4 separate regions of the Homo sapiens genome follow, and all the other regions are linked to region 1. Evidence: promoter capture Hi-C in 16 types of primary human blood cells and fetal thymus (Javierre and others, 2016). All regions are on one chromosome and are shown on one strand. The core of a region is centred on a gene start or on the middle of the fragment in contact, and the rest is flanking DNA. Distances in the headings are between cores, read along the strand shown. Region 1 holds the start of INSM1 (INSM transcriptional repressor 1). Region 2 overlaps CFAP61 (cilia and flagella associated protein 61). Region 3 overlaps CFAP61 (cilia and flagella associated protein 61). Region 4 overlaps RALGAPA2 (Ral GTPase activating protein catalytic subunit alpha 2).

Region 1 (3,729 bases), core at 1,038-3,537:
AAGGATTCACAAGGTGACTAACTCTCTGTTATCTGTTGAATGGAAGGAGTGTTACATATGCAAGACCGAATGGGGCAGGCCGAGCCCCCGCCCTATGCTATTCTACAATCCAGATGGGATTCGTGATTAGAAAATAAAATTGGCCAAAGCTGTCTCGGAATCCTTTTCCCACTTCTAATTTCATCAGCACTATTAATCAGAGCTCAAAAGAGCAAGGAAATAACATCAGTTACTTTTAGATAGAAATATGTTTATAAATTTTAGATAAACTCATTTTAAGATTTCTAACTTTTGGGGAGACTAGCACTCACCACAGCATTTTTAAAACTAGGGTGAGACTTTTCAAAATATATTTCACTATATGCATTCTTCCCTTTTCAGTGTGTGAGTTAAAATATTACAAACATAAAATTATCAAATATCTTTCCCTTGATTAACCAACCTGATTAACCCCTTAATTAATTAAGCCTAACAACTGTCCCCATCACAACTTATGACTCATGTGGACTCTATTTTTACATGTTTAATTTCTACGCCAGGGTATTTTCAGAGGGAAAATCCAAAACAATTAAATACCTTCAGTGGAATTAAGCGTAAGTAAAACTCAGCAAAATCTGTCTGGTATACAAAGCTTTGCAGAAAAATGTTTCCTTCTCTTTCAATAAAGTGACATTTTCCTCACAGCATATGACATTTTATGTGGCTTGGCTATTTGTTCCCCAGTGTTGGACGATCAGGGCCACTACGCACTCGTGGGGTTCTCTGCCCTGTCCCCCGAAGATTCTGCCTTTTGTGTTTCCTCGGGGCTGGGCTGGACAGAGGATGGAGGCAGGCGGCCCAGTCTGGGTCCAAACGGAACGGCAGCGGAGGTGGGGGTGGGGGTGGGGGCGGGGGGAATCTTCGCTGTTGTCTCTTCCTGGTGGCACAGGGGAGGCGGCTTGTCCTCTCGGAGGCCTCAGCCTGCCTCAGAGTACAGATTGCCCCCCCTCCCCCCGTCCAGCACGCGTCTCTTTTGCGTCCAGATTGGCCGCGACCGGAGCTCAATAGCAGGAGGTTAATTTCCTTCACAAAGGTGAAGGGGGCACGGCTCCGTGGGGGCTGCGCCCAGACAGGCAGCCCCTTTATTTCGCAGCGCCTTGATTGGAGCCCTTGATTTAGCATCTGATGTCAACCGGCAAACAAAATGCCCGCTCGGAATGAAAATGCATGAGGCCGCGCGGGGAGGAGAAAGCCAACTTCACTGGGGCGCACGAGGCCGACCGCGCGTTTCGGGCTTCGGCCAACTCGACCCGGATTAACCGAGCCTTGGACCACGCGGAAGCTCCGGGCGGCCTGGGTCGGGCCCCGCCAAAGATGCCATTCCCAAGCCTCCAAGAACCCAAAAGTTCAGAAATTCACGTTCCTCTGGGAACCCAGCCCAGCCCGCCCGCGCTCCAATCCCGCGCTTTCGGGAGACTGAGAAGGCCGTGCCAATTCCTTCTCAAACTCGAAAGAAACCTTCTCTAGCCCCGTGGGCGCGCGGAGGCTGCGAGCACAAACATCGCCCTCGGCCACTGCCAGAAGGCCGGGCCCCCTGTCCACACTTGGAACCCCGGGGAACCCTTTTGCTTGGCCTCTTGGGTCCAGCGGCCCATCCGTCCAAGGTCCGGGCGGAGGCCGTCCGGACCCTGCTGCTCTCTCGGATTCTTGTTTATTTCCCAAACACCACGCGGAGCCACTGCGCCTCCGCAACGATCTCCCCCGCACCGCCCCGGCGCGCCCCCGCCCCCACCCAATCAGCGCGCACAACTTCCCCCTCGGCTCCGGCTCGCGGATTGAACCCTCCTGACATATTTGGGGCCATTCTTCTCCTTTGTTGCTATTTTGCTAGCGACCCGCGGGTAATCCCCGCGCGGGAGGGGGGCGTGCATTGTCGCGCTGATGGACGGGCCCATTTGGCGGCTCCGCGCCCCCCGGAGGAGAGACACAAAGCCCAGGCACGTGCGCCTCCCCATAGAGAAGCAGCAGACCGTGAAGGGAGGCGGGGCCGGGCGTGTGCCTGGACCGGGCGGGGCGGCGGCGCCGGGCGGGGCGACCAGGGGCGCGCGCGGGGGCCCCGCGCCCTCAGGTACATCTGCCGCACCTACCGGGCGACCCCCGAGTCCCGGCCCCCTTTTGGCCGCCCCATCGCCCTCCCACCCTGCCAGGCTGAGGAGCTGCGGACGCGCTGATTGGCTCCAGGGGAAGCGGGAGGCGAGAACAATGGCCCCCTCCCCCCGTTAAAAGGGAGCGGCTGCCGGGCCCGGGGACAGGGACGCGCGTGCAGGGCGCAGAGCTGGGCCGAGCCGTCGCCGGCGCCACGCGAGTCCCGCAGCCGCCGCGCCCGGGCAATGGGCCGGGGGCACTGAGGGCCGCCGGGGCCGAGCGCGGAGGGGGGACCGAGCCAGTGCCGTGCCCTCGGGCCGCGCCAACATGCCCCGCGGCTTCCTGGTGAAGCGCAGCAAGAAGTCCACGCCCGTTTCCTACCGGGTCCGCGGCGGCGAGGACGGCGACCGCGCACTGCTGCTCTCGCCCAGCTGCGGGGGCGCCCGCGCCGAGCCCCCGGCGCCGAGCCCGGTCCCCGGGCCGCTGCCGCCGCCGCCGCCCGCGGAGCGCGCCCATGCAGCGCTCGCCGCCGCGCTTGCCTGCGCGCCTGGGCCGCAGCCACCCCCGCAGGGCCCGCGGGCCGCGCACTTCGGCAACCCCGAGGCTGCGCACCCCGCGCCGCTCTACAGTCCCACGCGGCCCGTGAGCCGCGAGCACGAGAAGCACAAGTACTTCGAACGCAGCTTCAACCTGGGCTCGCCGGTCTCGGCCGAGTCCTTCCCCACGCCCGCCGCGCTGCTCGGAGGGGGCGGCGGCGGCGGCGCGAGCGGAGCTGGCGGAGGCGGCACCTGCGGCGGCGACCCGCTGCTCTTCGCGCCCGCCGAGCTCAAGATGGGCACGGCGTTCTCGGCTGGCGCCGAGGCGGCCCGCGGCCCGGGCCCCGGCCCCCCACTGCCCCCTGCCGCCGCCCTGCGGCCCCCGGGAAAGCGGCCCCCGCCCCCTACCGCCGCGGAGCCGCCCGCCAAGGCAGTCAAGGCCCCGGGCGCCAAGAAGCCCAAGGCCATCCGCAAGCTGCACTTCGAGGACGAGGTGACCACGTCGCCCGTGCTGGGGCTCAAGATCAAGGAGGGCCCGGTGGAGGCGCCGCGGGGCCGCGCGGGGGGCGCGGCGCGGCCGCTGGGCGAGTTCATCTGCCAGCTGTGCAAGGAGGAGTACGCCGACCCGTTCGCGCTGGCGCAGCACAAATGCTCGCGCATCGTGCGTGTGGAGTACCGCTGTCCCGAGTGCGCCAAGGTCTTCAGCTGCCCGGCCAACCTGGCCTCGCACCGCCGCTGGCACAAACCGCGGCCCGCGCCCGCCGCCGCCCGCGCGCCGGAGCCAGAAGCAGCAGCCAGGGCTGAGGCGCGGGAGGCACCCGGCGGCGGCAGCGACCGGGACACGCCGAGCCCCGGCGGCGTGTCCGAGTCGGGCTCCGAGGACGGGCTCTACGAGTGCCATCACTGCGCCAAGAAGTTCCGCCGCCAGGCCTACCTACGCAAGCACCTGCTGGCGCACCACCAGGCGCTGCAGGCCAAGGGCGCGCCGCTAGCGCCCCCGGCCGAGGACCTACTGGCCTTGTACCCCGGGCCCGACGAGAAGGCGCCCCAGGAGGCGGCCGGCGACGGC
Region 2 (3,817 bases), core at 1,224-3,723, 230 kb before region 1:
CTGCATTATTTTTAAAATTATTTCAAATTATTTGTTAAGTTTATCTGATAGGATTCGAATTCCTTCTCCATGCTATCTAGAATTTCTTTGAGTTTTCCTCAAATCAGCTATTTTGAATTCTCCATCTGAAAGGTCCTACATCTCTGTCTCTCTGGGATTGGTCCCTGGTGCCTTATTTAGTTAGTCTGGCGAAGTCATGTTTTTCTGGTTGGATCTGATGCATGTGGATGTTTGTCAGTGTCTGGGCACTGAAGAGTTAGATATTTATTGTAGTCTTTGCAATCTGGACTTGTTTGTACTTTTCCTTCTTGGGAAGGCTTTCCAGGTATTCAAAGGAACTTGGATGTTGTGAACTAAGTTTTTGGTCACTGCATCTATATCTGCATTAGGTGGGTACACAGAGCCCAGTAACATTTTGGTTCTTGCAGACTTGTAGAGGTGCCACCTTGGTGGTCTTGGATAAGATCCAGAAGAATACTCTGGATTACCAGGCAGAGACTCTTATTCTCTTCCTTTACTTTCTGTCAAACAAATGAAGTCTCTCTCTCTGTGTTGAGCCACCTGAAGCTGGGGGAGGGGTGACACAAAGCACCCTTGTGGCCACCACCACTGTGACTGCAAAGGGTCAAACCTTAAGGCAGCACAGCCATGGGTCTTGCCCAAGGCCCACTGTAACCACTACCTACATTCTCTCAAGGCCCTAGGGCTCTGCAATCAGCAGGTGATGAAGCCATCCAGGCCTATGTCCTTCCCTTAAGGGCAACAAGTTCCCCTGGCCCTACAGAGGTCCAGAGATGCTGTCTGGGAGCCAGAGCCAGGAGTAGGAAACCTTAGAAATCTATCTGGTGCTCTGTTCTACTGCAGCTGGCCTGACTGTGACAGCACTAGGCAAAGTACTTTCCGCTCTTCCCTCCGTTTTTCCCATGCAAAGGAGTCTCTCCCCATGTCCACCACCACCACAGGCCCACAGGGAGTACTACCAGGGTACTACTGATGTTCACTAAAGGCCCAAGGGCTCTTCTGTCAGCTTGTGGTGAATGCTTTCAGGCCTGGGACTCATCCTTCAGGGCAGTGGGCTCTTCCACTGGCCTATAGTAGGTCCAGAGATGCCATTCAAGAGCCAAAGCCTGGAACTGGGGACCCTAAGAGCCTGTTTGGTGCTCTTCCCCACTGTGGCCAAGCTGACACCTAAGCTCAAGACAAAGTCCCCTTTACTCTTTCCTCTGCTTTTCTGAAGCAGAAGTGGTCTCTTCTCGTAGCCACTACAGCTGAGAATGTGCCGGTCACACCTGAAGTCAGCACAGCTCTTAGTCTCACCCAAGGCCCATGGCGAGTACTACCTGGCTACTGCTGCTGATTATTCAGGGCCCAGGGGCTCTTTAGTCACCACATGATGAATCCTACTAGGACTGGGTCCTTCATGTCAAGGCAGCAGCTTCCCTTCCAGTCCAGGGTGTGTCTAGGAATGTCATCCAGGAGCCAGGGCCTGGAATAGGGACCTTGTGACTCTGCCAGGTGCCCTATCCAACTGTGGCTGAGCTGGGATCCAAGTTACAAGACAAAGTCCTCTTCACTCCCCTCTCCTCTTTTCAAGTGGAAGGAAGGAGTCGGAGTCTCTTTTGGAGCTGTGAGATGCGGTGCCTGGGATTAGGGGAGGGGTAACGCAAGCACTCTTTTAGCAGATCCAGCTGGTGTTTTACTAGCTCGCATGTCCCCTAAGTCCGGTAGCTCAGTCCTCGTGGCCTAGACAGCCTTTCAAGTTTATTTAGGACCCCAGAGCACTTTTGCCTGTGGTGGCACGGCTTGCCAGAACTCAGGTTCCAACCAGCAGGATGGGTGATTCCCATCTGGCTAGGGCTGATGCAAATGCTCCCTCTTGGGGTGCCAGCTGAGTTCTGCCTGGTGTTGACAGCACTGCATTCCATTGCAAAGTCCCACAGTCACTGCACTTTCTCTCCCCAAGTGTACAGATTTTCCACGCCACGTGGCTACTGCCAGGGGAATGGGGAAAGGTTAGTGTTGGCAATTCAAGACTGTCTTTCCTGCCCTCTTCAGTGCCTCTTTCAGTGATATGAAGTTAAAACCAGATAGTGTGATCACTCCCCTGATTTTTGGTTCTTATGAAGGTGCTTTGTTGTGTACATAATTGTTAAATTTTGTGTTCCTGTGGGGAGGATGATTGGTGGAAGCTTCTATTTGATCATTTTGCTTCACTTCCTCTAGCACTATTTATTGTACAGTTTGTTCTTTCCCCCTAACTTGAAATGCCATCTTCATCATATATCAACATTTCATAACTGTCTGTGTCTATTTCTGGCCTTCATTCTGTTCTATTCTTGCCCCAGTAACTCTCTGTTTTAATAACTATGTCTTTATAATGTCTTAATATTCAGTTGGGAATTTGGCTCTCTTTTTGTTCATCTTTCTTAAATTTTTGTTTACTGTTTCTCCATATTTGCTCTTTTAGAATCAATTTATTTCATCACACAAAAATTAAGATTTTTGATGGATATTTAAAATAAATGTAAAAAGCACAAAATTATATTATTATTTATTCCTGAAGCCCTCAACATGTATTATTTTGCACTCCGTATGTATTATTCCTATTAGATAAAGAGCGGGGTAGATCCAGAGTCTTGTGGGACCTAAAGTCTGACCCATTCAAGAGCCCTTTTTAAGGAGAGTAATGCAAAATGATGAATGTGGCATTAGATGCTGTGCCTTGGCGGAGCCTGTGCTGGGAAGATGCCTGAACCTCTAAGCTTTATTAGCTTCATGGTAAACCCGCTTCAGATAAGCAGTCTCACTTAGAGAGAAAGTCCTGACAAATTGTGCCTTTACTCCCACTAGAGTAAACCAATAGTTCATGACTTCTAAACTACTTAGATGGTATAAGCCATAAAATAACAATTAAATCGCGCAGCTTCAGTTGTATTTTTAGTCATGTGTTACACAATACCACTGCCTCAGCTTTCCCCAGGATAGCACCTCTTATTTGAGGATCTCAGGGGACATTATGAACATTAAGTAATTAAACCTCGCAAGACCCCAGAGACACTGGAGAGAGAGATCCAGCTTCACCTTGCCCAGTTCTGAAATGCAGTCACCTCTAGGGATGAACGTGGCAGCTGCTTAGTAATAAACTGCAACACCTCACGACAGTTTAGTCAAGCAATTAGTCTTTGTAGTTGGTAACTGTCTCATGAACATTAGACCATTGACAGTTAAGTCACCAGGATTATTAGTTTACTGAAAATCTAATCCAGTCTTTAAGACTTTTTACTTTTTTGTAATATTTTCCTAATTATAAAAGAAGCATGCACAGTGAATGTCTACTTTTAGTTGCATTTTTTGTAGTTCTTCAAACTTAAAATAGGAAAGAAATATCTTTGTAATACATTAAAATAGGTAGTTACTGATAATGAGGTTTTTTTAATTCACAAGTTTTCTGCTGATCAAAAGTAATCAATGATAGTAAAAGTTGGAAGAGTGGATACCTTTGAGAGGAGTATTGACTGGACGGGGAGATGAGGGGAACCTCTGGGTGCTGGAAATTTTTTTTTTTTTTTTTTTTTTTTAGTGCTGTCTTGTTGCATTTTTTAAAAAATTTTTTATTTTTTATTTTATTATTATTATACTTTAAGTTTTAGGGTACATGTGCACAATGTGCAGGTTTGTTACATATGTATACATATGCCATGCTGGTGTGCTGCACCCATTAACTCGTCATTTAGCATTAGGTATATCTCCTAATGCTATCCCTCCCACCTCCCCCCACCCCACAACAGTCCCCAGAGTGTGATGTTCCCCTTCCTGT
Region 3 (3,794 bases), core at 40-2,539, 180 kb before region 1:
GTCTCAAGTGATCCTCCTGCCTTGGCCTCCCAAAGTGCTGGGATTACAGGTGTGAGCCACCTCACCCAGCCAGCCTACATTCTGCTTTTTGAGCTGAGTAAAAACCTTTTGGGAAATAGTTCTCAGAGGCAAATACAGACATAGAGAGCAGCCCCATTCAGTAGGAATACGCTGTGAGCCACATGTGTAATTTTAGATTTTTGAATAGCCACATTAATTTAAAAATCAAAAAGTAGGTGAAATTAATTGTAACATTTATTTCTTATTTAACCCATTATATCCAAAATATTATTGTTTCAGCGTGTAATCAATATTTAAAAAGCACGAATGAGATACTTTATGTTACTTTTTTGTACCAAGTCCACAATTCAGTGGATATTTTATTCTTACAGCACATCTCAATTCTGAGTACCACATTTCAAGTGTACAGGCTCTTGTACTGGACAGTGTCATTTTAGAGGAGGGCACAAACATACAGCCATAGCCCGTTCCTCCCCCTGAAATTCTAGGAACAAAGGAAAGCTCTGAAATATTCCTCTTTGGTGAATATGAATAGCAGAGATGAATGCAAAATGGTTGTGACCCCTGATCAACAGTAGATTTCCATGGACAGACTGGTGAAACGATGTTTGCAGTTTTGTGCTACTTTGCAGGAAGATAACCCCATGTCCTACTGAACATTTATTGGGCACCACTGTAGGCTACAAAAAGCCCTGGTCTTTTAGAGTGGACCATGATATGGTCTGAGCTTCAAGCCTTGCTGGGGGAAGATGTCCACTTATTCTCACTTTCCAGTCCAGTATCCAACAACACTCTTTATAACTCAGTTGTAGTATTTATTATATGTAAAAAAACATGTAATAAGCATGGGGAAGCTCTCTGGCTATCTCCATGCAAGCTTCATGATTAGTTCACTTGACAGCTGTTTATTGAGCATCTACCATGTGCCAGGCATTGCTCTAGCCATGAGGTGGCAGCAGTGAGCAAATAGACCAACACTGCCATCTTTGTCAAATTTTATTCTAGTGGGAGGAGACAAACAGTGAAAAACAAAATAAAGAGAAAGTAGGAAGTGCTGTGGAGAAAAATAGAACAGGGAATGAGGATGGAAGGTCAGGGTCCAAATTTTAAATAGGGGGTCAGGGTCAGGGAGGGCGTCACTGAGAGGGTGAAGTTTCAGCAAAGACTCAATGTTGAGGTGATGGAACAGGCTCATAGATTTGCTGGAGGAGAATTACAGGTAGGAACTTCTGATGAGGTAACTTCTGATGAGGTAGGAACTTCCTCAGGTAGGAACTTCTGATGAGGTAAGAACTTCTGATGAGGCAGGAACTTCTGATGAGGTAGGAACTTCCTCAGGTAGGGAATTCTGATAAGGTAGCACCTTCTGATGAGATAGGAACTTCTGATGACATAAGAACTTCTGATGAAGTAGGACCTTCTGATGAGGTAGGAACTTCCTCAAGTGGGAACCTCTGATGAGGGACTATGTCTGGCATGTTTGAGGAACAGCATAGTGGCCTGTGCAGCAGAGCAGGGAAACCAAGAAGCCAACTATTTGGAGATGAGTCAGAGCAAGCAGCAATCCCAGAGGGAGGGCACGGGGAAGGAGGCTGTGGTCATGGAGAGTTGGAGAGGGGGCTCTCAGCCACTGTAGAACTTTGGCTTTTACTGGGAGTGCAAGCTTATGCTCGTAAATGTAGCAAAATTATGGTAATTATTAGACTCCCTGCTGAATCATGTTTGTTTAATGAAGCTCGTATATTGTAATCTTATGTATCTTACTTTATGCATTTAAAAATATTCTGAGAGGGGCCATACACATAAAAGAGGTTAAGAACACCTCTATTACTGGGAATTTGAGTATAAGAGTCTTGTGATCTGACTTAACATTTGATAAGCATTGCTCTGGCAAATTGGTGGAGGATGGCTTGTCAGGAACAATGGCAGAAATGTGGAGAGACACTAGTATGCTGTTCCAGCAACCCAGGAGAGAGGTGGTGGAGGCTGGACTAGCACTGGAGGTCTTGAGAAGTCGTTCCATTCTTAGATGCATTTTGAAAGCAGAGCCAGCCCAAAGTTAGGCTGAAAGAGAGGTGTGCAAGAAAACAGATGAGGCCAAAGGTCTGGGCCTGAACCACTGGAAGGATGGAGTTGCCATTACCTAAGACAGGAAAGACAGCTGGGTGGAGGGCTTTGGAATGGAAACAGTGAGACGACTCTTAGATGGCCATGTCTTTTTCATTTGGGGGATGTAGTGTACTTTAGCTTAAGTTTATCCATATCTTCCACAGTATCTTAAATGTGTTGTCTGACACCAGTTTCTGAGAGAGGCATATTAAACTCTACCAATATGATGGTGAATTTCAAACTCTTCTCATAACCCTGTCCATTTTTACTTCAGTATCCTGGAGCTTTATTGTTAGACACCTATACATATGGTATTGTTATATCTTCCTAGTGAACTTTTATTATCAAATAAAGACCTTTTTCTCATGATTTTTGCCTTAAGATCTGGTTTAGCTGATATTTATATAGCTATGCCAGCTTATTTTTTTGCTATTAGTTGCCATTCCCTTTTCCTTTCAATTATTTTGGCATTACATATATTTTTGTAACAGCTTTATTGAGATGTAATTCACATGCCATACAATTTGTCCACTTCAAGTGTACAATTCAATGGTTTGTAGTAGAGTTACAGCATTGTGCAGTTACCACGTCTATCTGGTTCTAAAACATTTGCATCACCCAGAGGACACCCTGTACCTGTCAAGCTGTCACTCCCATTCTCTTCTCCCCTCAGCCCCCAACAATCACTAACCCACTTTCTATCATTGTAAATTTGCCTATTCTGGACATTTCATATAAATGGAATTACACAACACGTGGCCTTTTGTATATGGTTTCTCTCACTTCGCACAATGTTTTTAAAGTTCATGCATGTTGGAGTATGCATCAGTACTTTATTTTCTTTTATGGCTGAATAGTGTTCTGTTGTATGTATCAATCATACTCTGTTTATCCATTCATCAATTGATGGGCATTTGGGTTGTTTTTTCTTGGGCTATTGTGAATAATGCTGCTATGAAAATTCATGTACAGGTTTTGTGTGGACATATGTTTTTAATTCGCTTGAGTATTTTTCTAGTGCTTTTGTGGTCTTGTTTGTTACATTTACATCTGTAATCCACTGAACTAGATTTTGGTGTAAGGTGGTCATATAACAACCAAGTTCTTATCTTTCACTTAAAATTGCTCATAAACATTAAGATGGTATTAATTGTTCATCTTTTTATTAGTTAATTATAGATACAGATATTGTTCTTTGCAAATATGATACTTTGTTCATAATATGGAAGCATGTATTAAAATTTAAGCACAGATGTTCCCTACAGTTAAAAGTTAAATAGATTAGGATATTTTATTGTATCAGCACGAGGAGGAATGGCATTGTCCCATTGAGTAATAATACCCTAGTAACTGCAGAGAATTCACTGCAAGGCTAGCTACATAATATACAGGACCCATTACAAAATGAAAATGTGAGGCTCTGGCCTGGTGTGGGGCAGTCAGTCTCTCCTTCCCATGGGCTCCAACCCATGGCAAACAGGCATCCAACTAAGGGCTTGCAACCTCTGCACCAGGATGCACTGAACACCTGGGTGGGGGATGGGTAGGAGGTCCACACTGAGTTGCTAGCCGAACACGCCATGGCACTGCCTGCCCAAGGTGGGGACAGCCACCCCCTTGGTCTGACCAGAGACTCCATGTGTCATGTAGCTGACTCATGAGCC
Region 4 (3,933 bases), core at 380-2,879, 200 kb after region 1:
TACCCTGAGTTGCATCATTCTGTAAAAGATGCTTCCACTTGCAATGATGCCTGTAAAATATTTGAGCAGGGAGTACAAACAATTCTACTTTGTGTTCCTATTTCTACATTTATCTAGGAAATAAATGAGATTATGGGACTAAGCCAGCCTGCTACATGGATGTCCTCTATACACTGCTAAAATCACAATGAATATGACAGACTACTCACTAGGACAGTATGGTTATTATTTCATATAAGAGTTCAATGATTTTTAAAGCTCAAAGTAAGTATTGGGAAATACATACTGCAAACTATTTAAATTCAAGTACATTCTAAAGCAACAAAAAAAGTTTGCTTATCAGGAGAATAACTTCTTACATGTACCCTGAGGTATCAAAAGGTCTGTGTGTCTGCATCATACCTTCAACGAATACAAAAAATGCAGAAAGGACAGTTACTTGATAGTTAATAAATGATTCAAGTTCATTAATAAGTATTTACAATTTAAAGGGTAAATCTCAAACACTCCCTATACCTCTATATTGGTTAAGAAAACCTAGTAATAAAATGAAATGTCTTAAAATTTATTGAATCTTTTCTATTCCTTTCTTTCCATCCCCAATGCTACCGGCTTAGTTCTTATCATTTTTTTAAAATCTGTATTAAACACTTCCTAATTGTTCTCCATCTACAGGCCAATCTCTGATTCTATCCTACTATCACATTTTCAAATCCATCTTCCAAATGCAGTCCAGAATCTCTGTGAAGCATAAATCAATCACATCACTTGCCTGCTTGATATCCCAAATCAAGTCAAGAATCCATGTGTCCCTATCCGTAATCTCCCTCAACTGGCAGAAGTCTTCCCAAGGGAGGAAGGTCAGGGTCTGGCCACACCCTATCTCCCAAACCTAGGGCCTACAAGGAGGAAGAGGTAGCTAGTGGCTCCTTGGGCCTTTCTGTTCGAACTTGAACCAAACTTAAATTGCATTGGGAGAAATTAAAATAACTCCTTATCAAGAAATGTCTGGACTCATCTTCTATCTTACAGGTAAAGTCTTTCACAAAAACATCCTAACTACTAAAACAACAATTTTCAAACATTTTTAAATGATCAGTACCACTTTCTTCAAACCATATTTAATGCAGAACCCAAACAAAAAGTGGTTATAATAGTATTTTGAGGTTGACAACACAGGCAGAGGTTAGATCATAGAGGCCATAGAATAAAATTAAAATTTGGTTGGCACAATGCAAATGCAAAGTCAGTGGGGAGAAGAAGCAGGGATGTGAAACCTGATTTACATTTTTGAAAGACCATTGTGCTTGCTGTGTGTAAAAGAGTTGAAACTACTGAGAAATTCAACACTTCTGATGTATTTTCATAAATATTACTAATGTCTTTAAAGAGTGATATGCTATTTCCAATTAATGGGCAATCACAATAAAGGAGTCGCAGAATACCTGATCCTCGCTGGTTAATCCCAGGTGCATCACAAGGTAAAAATGCACCAGGAAATCTGAGTTTGGCAGAACGTCCTGGCGTCTGGTCATCATGGCACAGATCAGCCTGTAGGCTTGTAGTTTGCCTTCCTTATATTCATTTGGCAGTGTCGCCGCCTGTCAAGGAGATGATGTTTCCAGATTAAATCAAGCCCAGGTGCAGAGTATTTCAACATTTCATTTACTTCTCAGTTTTCCTTAAGAGTTGTTTATGGACATGTGGGATGCAGTTACTTTAGTAAGACCCAGCCTGTCTTCAAAACATGCAGTCTTGGGCAATTACATTTTTCAAACTCAATTTCAGAAAGGAAGAGGAAATCGCAATAAAGGAATAAACACATATCCACTTGCCTTAAACAGCCATGATGCAAACATTCTGAGTGGTGGGATCAAAACTGGAGGAGATGGAGAAGACTGGTTATCCAGGCTTATTGCTAGATTATCCCGTATCTAATTCACAAAGAGGAGAATTTTAGGGTAGGTAACATTACGTTTATCCCAACAGTATTTCAACAGTCTTCTGTGACCATATAGCTGCTTTCAGTTAATTTCTATAAGTGAAAACCTGTAATATTTACAAGTTTCTCTTTTATTGTGAAATTATCCTTTTGAATTACATGTTTGGCTTACTGTATGTGGTTTTAGATTTATATACAAAACAAAGGCATTGTTTTTCCTTGAACGTTAATGGCTGGGGAGGTCCTGAATTCCAAACGATAAGTAACATTTTAATGAGTTATACTGAACAAACATGAACCATGTTTTTGAAAAAAAAATTTAATACATGTGAATGTCAGAACCCAAACAAAAATCAGAATAAAAATTGTATGTACTACTCAGGAGGCTAAAGCAGGAGAATTGCTTGAACCCAGGAGGCAGAGGGTTGCAGTGAGCCAAGATGGCGCCACTGCACTCCAGCCTGGGCGACAGGGCAAGCAAGACTCCATTTCAAAAAAAAAAAAAAAACTTGTATGTACTCTAAGATTCTACTTTCATAAAAAGAAAGAAGACTATATATTAATATTGGCTATTTCTATGAATACTGATGTTAATTTTCTTCTTTGTATTTTTCTACATTTTTCAAATTGTATACAATACAACCAATATCACTTTTATAAAGAGAGTAACTAGAATGACTTAACATCCTGTATTTAATATCCTATAGCAATATTCTACTTTTGCACTAAATGAAATAACTTTTGCATTTATAAAATAGTCATGTTATATATGATTATTCTTTGATAATCAAATGGACTTTGTCTAAATGTACCATTTGTGTTTCGGAATATGTTCAGTAGTTAACTGAAACACAGTTTTTACATTAAATGATAAGACCATTTTCCTGGATTAGAATAAAAAGTAACATAGCAGAACTTACCTTTGCTAGTTTGTACCAGAGTTCATAGAGATAGCAGAAAACTCTGGCATGGATCTTGGGTGACTGGATGTTATTCACATCTCCGAGGATCCCCAAGACCCTTCGCCATAACACAGCAGCAGAGTCTGGGTGCCAACCAGTGAGGCTCCCCCCGGCGATTATACTACAGTCATCTGTGAGGCACTCGCTGCTATCTATGCAGAAAAACATGTCTGTTAACCCTGTAAACAATCTTGATTTCATCATACCTTTTTTCTTTAAGGCAAATTACCTTAGGTATTCAAAGTAAAATAATTAAGGCAAAAAATGTGAAACAGCTGAGAATTTAAAAGGAGAGAAAAGCAGGATCAAGGAAGAAAGGTCAAATGATTTTGATTCTTCAAACTAAAAGAGCAACAAGCTAAGACATGACATAACAGTTCCTGGAGACCCTGTGATGGGTTTTATAGATCAGGGGAGAGGAAGAGGGAGACCCTTGAGCAGGATGGGTGGGAAACAGTGCCATGGAAATGGGTGGCCAGGGAAGCCTCAATGCTGGAGTAACATCTGCGGTGGTTGTTGTTAGGTCAGGTTCATGGGGGTGAAATGTGCATACAAGAAATTTCCATCCCTTTCAGGTTTAAGGAGTTTTAAGGAATGTATACGTTCATGCAACTGTTGCCATAAACTGCCACCATAATTGAAATATGGAGGATCTCATCACTCCAAAAAGTGCCCCTTCATAATTGGTCCCCTTCCTCTATTCTCAGCCTCTTGCAACTACTGCTTTGTTCTCTGTTCCTATAGTTTTGCCTTTTCCAGAATGTCACATGAATGAAATTCTACAGTTTGTAGCCTGTCTGGTTTCTTTCACTCAGCAAAATGCATTTGAGATTCATCTGTACAGTTGTGGGTATCAGTTGTCTCTTCTTATTACTGATTAATATTCTATTTTACAGATGTGTCATAGTTTATCCATTCACCTGTAGATATTTAGATTTGTTCCTGTTTTTTGGCAATTATGAATACAGTTGCTATAAACATTCATGTACAAGCTTTTGTGTTAACATGTTTACATTTCTCTTAAGTAAA

What was found. Contacts are between HindIII fragments. The CHiCAGO score rates a contact against its expected background, and 5 or more counts as called.
Region 2: a fragment that was not itself captured here is called in contact with the fragment with the promoter of INSM1 in region 1 in 1 of 17 cell types (M2 macrophages); the score reaches 5.4 in M2 macrophages.
Region 3: a fragment that was not itself captured here is called in contact with the fragment with the promoter of INSM1 in region 1 in 3 of 17 cell types (M1 macrophages, M0 macrophages and M2 macrophages); the score reaches 6.0 in M1 macrophages.
Region 4: a fragment that was not itself captured here is called in contact with the fragment with the promoter of INSM1 in region 1 in 4 of 17 cell types (megakaryocytes, fetal thymus, M1 macrophages and 1 more); the score reaches 10.7 in megakaryocytes.

Annotation. Positions count from the first base shown.
Region 1 is chr20:20,365,817-20,369,545 of GRCh38, forward strand. It overlaps INSM1 (INSM transcriptional repressor 1), which reads left to right and starts at 2,288. Exons shown (of 1, transcript NM_002196.3): 1 at 2,288-3,729. The coding sequence starts at 2,452. RefSeq lists an enhancer at 1,381-2,151. The HindIII fragment of the contact is 3,677 bases long and covers 630-3,729 here.
Region 2 is chr20:20,136,575-20,140,391 of GRCh38, forward strand. The region is part of intron 8 of CFAP61 (cilia and flagella associated protein 61); the gene reads left to right. Among named protein-coding and RNA genes, the nearest start is that of CFAP61, 86 kb to the left of the region's middle. The HindIII fragment of the contact is 573 bases long and covers 2,188-2,760 here.
Region 3 is chr20:20,183,391-20,187,184 of GRCh38, forward strand. All of the region lies in intron 13 of CFAP61 (cilia and flagella associated protein 61), which reads left to right. Among named protein-coding and RNA genes, the nearest start is that of CFAP61-AS1, 83 kb to the right of the region's middle. The HindIII fragment of the contact is 786 bases long and covers 897-1,682 here.
Region 4 is chr20:20,570,013-20,573,945 of GRCh38, forward strand. RALGAPA2 (Ral GTPase activating protein catalytic subunit alpha 2) reads right to left here. Exons shown (of 40, transcript NM_020343.4): 21 at 2,863-3,056; 22 at 1,836-1,934; 23 at 1,446-1,601. Among named protein-coding and RNA genes, the nearest start is that of RALGAPA2, 140 kb to the right of the region's middle. The HindIII fragment of the contact is 4,529 bases long and covers 1-3,894 here.